Regions from separate parts of the Homo sapiens genome. Here region 1 is linked to region 2. The links are contacts of gene promoters, found by promoter capture Hi-C in blood cells and fetal thymus (Javierre and others, 2016). All regions are on one chromosome and are shown on one strand. Each heading gives the region's core, a stretch centred on a gene start or on the middle of the fragment in contact. The rest is flanking DNA. Distances are from core to core; before and after follow the strand shown.

Region 1 (3,417 bases), core at 204-2,703, 640 kb before region 2:
GAAAAGAAGGAAGGAAGGAAAGAAGGAAGTCAATTTTTTTTTTTAATTTCCAAATAAGGCCTTGGAATCCGATAGGAATAGCCAAGTAGGAAGTCAAGAATGGAATTTGGCTGGCATGGTGGCTCAAGCCTGTAATCCTAGAACTTCAGGAGGTCAAGGCATAGAGATCGCTTGAGGCCAGGAGTTCAAGATCAGCCTAAGCAACATAGCATGATCCCCATCTCTACAAGAAATCATTTTAAAAAATTAGCTGGGCATGATGGCACATGCCTAAACTCCCAGTTACTCATGAGGCTGAGGTGGGAAGACTGCTTGAGCCCAGGAATTCTAGGCTGCAGTGAGCTATAATCATGCTGCTATTCTCCAGCCTGGGCAACAGTGTGAGACTCTGTCTTTAAGAAGAAAAAAAAAAGTTTTTGTTGTAGCAACAATAGATTAGATTGGGAATCAAACCAAATTTCCAACCACTCTTGTACTTAGTCAAAGGCCTGTCATTCTTGCTATGCTATTGTCTGAGAGTGCACCTGTCAATAGCTGTCTAGTGTTTTCTATGATCATTTAGGAGAGATGACAGTGGCTGGGCCCAAAATTTGCTGTGCCTCAACTGATGAAATAAGCCTCAGCTAAATACTGCCCAGTGTGGTGGTTCAAAACATCTCTAAGAACCCCAAAATTGAGTATGAGAGAATTGAGACTCACAGGCAAGGGAGGGTGGGACAGAGACAGCCCCCAAGAGCCTAGTGATTCTGCCCAGTGGTATTCTAGTTGCTGCCATTGTCACCCTTGAAACCATATTATATTTTCACTATTGTGCTTCTCAAAATAACACAGTAGTCCTTATATTGTGTTGGATTTGGCTTCCATTCCCTATTCCAGAGACAGAAGTGTATTGCTAGACTCTTCACACAAAAGCCTCCCCCAATGCCAAATAACTCATTTAAATATGCTTTTTATTTTTAAGACAAATATTTTGTGTCATATGCAAAACTGTCAGTGCTTTTAGATGTTTCTGATGGTTTTTAAGATAATTCTCATTACACATTCAATCTAATTTTGCTTTATCCTGACATTTTAATATTAAAGATATATTCTATTAGTTACTATGTTGTTTCTGGGAACAGTTTATTTTAATTCTACAAAATTTGCATTAGTCTCCTTCTATTAAGAGAGGTTTTATTCTCCCCTGATAAATTTTGCTTTATAAGAACATGAAATTTACTGATATACTAATGGCCATTTTAATCACATGTCCATCTTGTAGAAAGGAAAAATAATTTTCCCTCTGCCCTTCTAAGTTCTTAGTTGGGACCCATGTAACTAAAGCTGATTAACAAGAGAAAAACGAACAAGTTTATTAACATGTATACCTCATACATATGGGAGAAAAGTCAGGGAAAATGTACCTCTCAACGAAGTGGTTTACAACTCTTTTTTAAGCAGCATCATCACTGAAGAACAATAAATTTGTAAAGAAATGACAGAACAAAGGGAAAAGGGCCTAGAGTCTCCAGGGGCAGAAAACTGTGGGAAGGCAAATATATGGGGAACTAAATACATTCCAGCTAGTAAAGCTTGTGACATAGGCTCCTCTGGTGCTGACTCCAGGCTGATGTCATCTTCAGTGATCAACCTTTGTGCTTCTGGTAAGAGAGGGGAAGAGAGATGCTTTTTTAAATATTTGTCCTGCTTTTCAGGCAAATGGGGGAAGATAGAGCTCTGCTTTTATCTGCTGTTTCTCAGCTGCCTTCAGCTCAAAATAATCTTTATGCCACAGTGGCATATTTTGGAGTGGTATATTCTGCCACTTTTCAATCTTTAAAAGAATATAGAGACCTATATTTGGTCCAAAGAGTAAAAAAATAAATTAAAAAGATTATTTTAGCAATCAAAAGTCAATATCAAAGCCTGTGGCAATTTGCTGATAGATTATCATAGGAGTATTTTAATAATAAAAAGTAAACTCTGAAAACCAACTTATATTCATTTGACTATAAGAATAAAAAATTATACTACATCTTTTAATATTTATTTTCTAGGAAATTTAGGAAATTCTCCACTGATGTTTTTTATTCTGAATATAAATTAAATGCTGTTCTCACTTATTATTAACTAAATAGCAGTCTGAAGGATTTACTGTGAGCCCACATTTTATTTTTTAAGATTTGATTCATTTCTCTTTGTTGTTATAGTCTTCATGTGACTCCTCAGGTGTTGTTAAGCGCCATTACTAATGTGATCTATTTTGCTCCAGGTATTTAATTACTTTTTAAATTTAACTAATACATGTTCTTTTGTAGGAAATACAATAGTGCAAAGATAAAAATCCTAATTCACTGATAGCACTAATATCCAGAAAAAAATCATAGTAACTTATTAGCATATAAATGTAACCCACCTATGCATATGTGTCTGTAAATGTCTGTATACGTGTGTATGTAAGTGGCAAAAGTTAGTTTAAACTGTGCATGATGTTTTCTCTCTTCTCAAAATTTCACTTTTATAACTTCCAAAGAGAGAATTAGGTAAATGTATTAATTTTCTCTAGCAATATTTGGTGCTTGTAATGATATCCTAAAAAATTTCATTTACTAATCCAACTACTATTATAAATAACAATATATTGTGCTTTATTTGGTTTAAATATTTTCATGCAATATAAGTGATGTAACACTAATAAAGAGTTTCCAAAAAAAATATTAATTATATATTTCTAGGTATTTCATTTTATTTTCGAGGTAAAGTTATTGAGGAATTCTTTGTTTCAATGACTCATCTTCTCTTATCTGGTAGAGATTTCATTTATTTCCTCCTCCTTCTCCCACCCTTTAAAAAGATAATTTGCTTACCTACCTGCAAATTGTTCATCTTTGCTAAACTTTGAATTCTTTCCGTTTCTTTTAGTATTTGGCTACAATCCTCCAAACTAACTTTTCCAATTTTTCTCCCTCCCACCTGACCTAAGGTCACTGACAGCTAAAACCTTAAAACCCAGATCCCCATCCAGACTCTGTTCCCTTCCAGCTTGACCTTTTCCTCAGGATCTTAAGAAGCCTTGAGAACCAAAGCTCAGTGATATGGAAGACCTCATATATGGACTGGGCCATATATGGACTGGATTTCTCGCTAGACAAATTATTATTTGATTCACTAAGAAAGCTTGAATGAAATGCTCAGATCATCCATGTCATTATATAGGAGGTTTAAGACTGGACAATTTCAATGAAAGCATTGACATACTATCTAGAGTACTGGAAAAAATTCAATGATCCATGCTGCATAATTGACAGATTTTCCTCCTTCAATGTCTTGAAATTCACTGGACTGGTTAACTTCAGAGTTAAGCTATTGGCTTTTCAATATAATCTCTAATATTAATGTTTCTCTTTTTCATTTTAGGTGTCCCACTTCTAAAAATGA
Region 2 (3,414 bases), core at 292-2,791:
TAGAAACAGAGTTTCACCATGTTGGCCAGGCTGGTCTGGAACTCCTGGTGATCACCTCAGGTGATCCATCCGCCTTGGCCTCCCAAAGTGCTGGGATTACAGGCGTGAGCTACCGTGCCCGGCCTATTTTTTTTTTTTCCGAGATGGAATTTCGCTCTTATTGCCCAGGCTGGAGTGCAATGGTGCGATCTCGGCTCACCACAACCTCTGCCTCCCGGGTTCAAGCAATTCTCGTGCCTCAGGCTCCCGAGTAGCTGGGACTACAGGCACACGTCACTACACCCTGCTAATTTTTGTATTTTTAGTAGAGATAGGGTTTTGCCATGTTGGCCTCGAACTCCTGGTCTCGAACTCCTGACCTCAAGTAATTCACTCTTATTTTCTTTATTTAAAGAATTAACAATATATTACTTACAGGTGGAAAACACAAATGTATGTGTCATTTTCCCTATTACGCTAGCCTCTTCACTGATCTAATTCCATTGGATATGCATTTATCTATCATTTATTAAGCAGCTCTTATATATTGAATCATGTAGTAAATATTGGACACCCAATGATGGATTAGAGATCTCTTCAGTCCTGGGGGAATTCACAGTTTAAGGGAGGAGGTCAGAGAAACACACAGGAAGATAAGTACTGAGCCATGTGTAGGAAGCCCTGTGAGCCTGAGAAGAGTCAAGGTAGGCTTCCCAAAAGCCATCCCGTTTCACTTGAGTTTGGCAGAGTTAACCAAGCAGAGAAAGGAAGAAAGAGTGTACTAGGAAAGGGAAGCAACAGGGACAAAGGCAGGAAAGTGGGAACCTGCACAGTACATTTGGGAACAGCAAAGGGTTGAGTGTGGGTAGAGCAGAAGCTATAGATGAGGATCTAAAGTCAATAGAAGTAGAAATAAAAGAACATGGAGTCAAGTAAGTTCAGTACCCAAGGAAAATCGGAAGGAAGAGGGCAGCTTTCCTTCATGCAGCTTCCCTTCCAGTCACTGAGACCTCAGACTCTTCTCTTCATTCAGGCAGTGAGCATGAAAAGATCTGGATGGGACTGGATATAGCAGCCACCAGTCTTTATTGAAATAGCCCTGGGGCATGACTCGAACCTGTGAGGGACCATAAAGGGGCATGATTTCTGCAGCTGTGTTTACTGTCAGTGATTGTACAGACTCAAACATGGAGCTAGGGATAATATGGTAATCTAGATGAGACATGAGTGACATAGACACAGTAGAGCTCCACCTTGAACCCAAGATTGGCCCCTAGAACTGTGCAAAACAGGCAACACTGCAGGGTGGCTCATGGCACTCAACTATTCCTGCACTGATGACATTCCTGTACTGATGACATCACCCACATGATCATCTGTTTATAAGTCTGTCTCTTTAAATGGTGAGGAAAGAGAAATAAAGGTGTAAAAATCCAGCCATCATAACAAAAACACCAAAAGAAAGAAATTAACTTACCCAAAGGTCTCACAGCTTGTAGTTTGTGAATCTCTACATTAAAAGGTGGATGATGAATCTGAGACCTACTGAGTTAACTGTCCAGCATCTCAGCCATATGCCTTATTCCTCTTTATATGCATCTCCACTCCCACACCACCCCCTCCTGGCTTCATCCTTTAGTGCCTGGAATAACGCCTGGCACATGGTAGTTACTCATCAGAAGTCCACTGAGTGAAAGAACAAACACCTACCACTGACGGGTTGCTATTTATACCATTCTGTCTTCACTGTTGGGAGCTTCATACTGTATTCTTCAAAATGGGCACCCCCTGCAGCATGCCTCACTCTACAAGGAAAACTTCTCTGTTAACAAGCCTTATGATGGGGTCACTATGTGATCACCTAAAGCTGGCCTTTTCTGTCCCTCATCCGGGTAAATGGCTCACCGTGGAAAACTATAGACGACTTTTGCCCTTTCACTAACATTCCTCTTGATAAGACACTTAAAGAGGAAAATAGTCTTGACTCTTTAAAGTTGATGCCAGTTTGGGGCTGTTAACAAAGTCAAGGGATTCTGTTGTTAGAATCAACCTAGCACACAGCTTGCTCAGTCGATACTGTTTCACTGGCCTGAGATTACAGCAGAGGTAGGTGCCTAAGATGAGGAAATGGTTGTGGAGAAAGAGTCCGAATGACCCAGAGGTCCACGTGTGCTTTCCTAGTTCGTTTATTCAGCTGATATTTATTGAGAAATTATACCGGGATGTGGAAATTTACTGAGTCCCTGTCCTTTCATTATTTTAATCCAGTGCACTAGGTGTTCTTATCAGAGTGAGTCCATGAAATGTTGGGGATGCAGGGGCACTGGTAGTAGGAGTTGAGAACCTGATGATGACTGTCTTTGCAATGTTCCCTCAGAAGAAAAGGTTTGTGCAGAAGGCACATCCCACTTCAGACTCCTGCACATCTGCAGAGAACTTTGCATTCTCACTGCAAGAGGAGTTCCTCTTCCTTTCATTTTTCTTCTCTTTGTCTTCCTTTTTTTCTCTATGCCAAACCTAAGCAAATCTGCTTCATCCAGAGGCAGCTGGCGCTACTATGTGGGAGTGTTAAATGTTTAACATCTTGTCACTTGCGTAACTGATGGAGTCATCCTTTTTGTTTCAGAGTTTCATGTTTAGGGGTTGAAAAGCTAGATTGATGAGCATTACCAGAGAGAAATATTTTTTGGAAAGTAAGTGAAGCTGATGACACATTACTTTACAGTTTAGTGAATTTCAGCAAATCTAATTCTATTATCCTGTCAAAGTTTCACAAAAAGGAGACCTGAAAGCATATTTTAGATGAATCTTTAAAGATTTCAAGAAGCCACAACCGCATCTGCAAAGCTCAGATGCATCTGGTGCTGACAGACCTTTGTTTTTCTATAGACTAAGGGGAGTAAATAATCTTCCAAAAACTAATTAAGTAAAGTTATCTTTGGTTGTACAGTGCCTGCCTCTCTCTCCCTTGAAAAGGTTGTCAGCCAGTAAACGATAACTGCGTTTTTCAATTCAAAGGCTATTCGAAGTTTGCATAGCCAAATTTACCCAGGCACACCAAAATAGAAGCTTCCTTTATGAATCATAGAGTCTTGTAATGCAGATTTTATAGAGCATTTAAAGCCAGATCATTTATGTCCTTGTTTATTTTCACAATCAAGTATAAGATACGGTCTAATAAATACATTCTGACCAAAATGCTAGGAGCAATTGTTTTAAAGCGTTTTCACACAATTCTATGTATTTGTCAGAGGCTTACAAGCTGACAAGCTGAAAGCGCTTTGTGATGCTTTTGGCAATTTGTGTGATTGTGTATACACTTGCACAGAAGTTCCTTATCGAGAGGAAGCATTTAAGTAAAAAGGGGAGCATTAATGAAAAGGTCCATTTTAATAGAAATTGCTGTTGTTCTCTACTATCTAACAATTATTCACT

Evidence for each region. The method cuts DNA at HindIII sites, captures the fragments that hold promoters and counts their contacts. A CHiCAGO score of 5 or more calls a contact.
Region 1: a fragment that was not itself captured here is called in contact with the fragment with the promoter of LRRC53 in region 2 in 1 of 17 cell types (erythroblasts); the score reaches 6.1 in erythroblasts.

Annotation. Positions count from the first base shown.
Region 1 is chr1:73,873,414-73,876,830 of GRCh38, forward strand. No RefSeq gene overlaps it. Among named protein-coding and RNA genes, the nearest start is that of LINC02238, 200 kb to the left of the region's middle. The HindIII fragment of the contact is 3,401 bases long and covers 1-3,154 here.
Region 2 is chr1:74,511,070-74,514,483 of GRCh38, forward strand. It overlaps LRRC53 (leucine rich repeat containing 53), which reads right to left and starts at 1,542. Exons shown (of 5, transcript NM_001382280.1): 1 at 1,457-1,542. All of the region lies in intron 25 of FPGT-TNNI3K (FPGT-TNNI3K readthrough), which reads left to right. All of the region lies in intron 23 of TNNI3K (TNNI3 interacting kinase), which reads left to right. The HindIII fragment of the contact is 6,650 bases long and covers 1-3,046 here.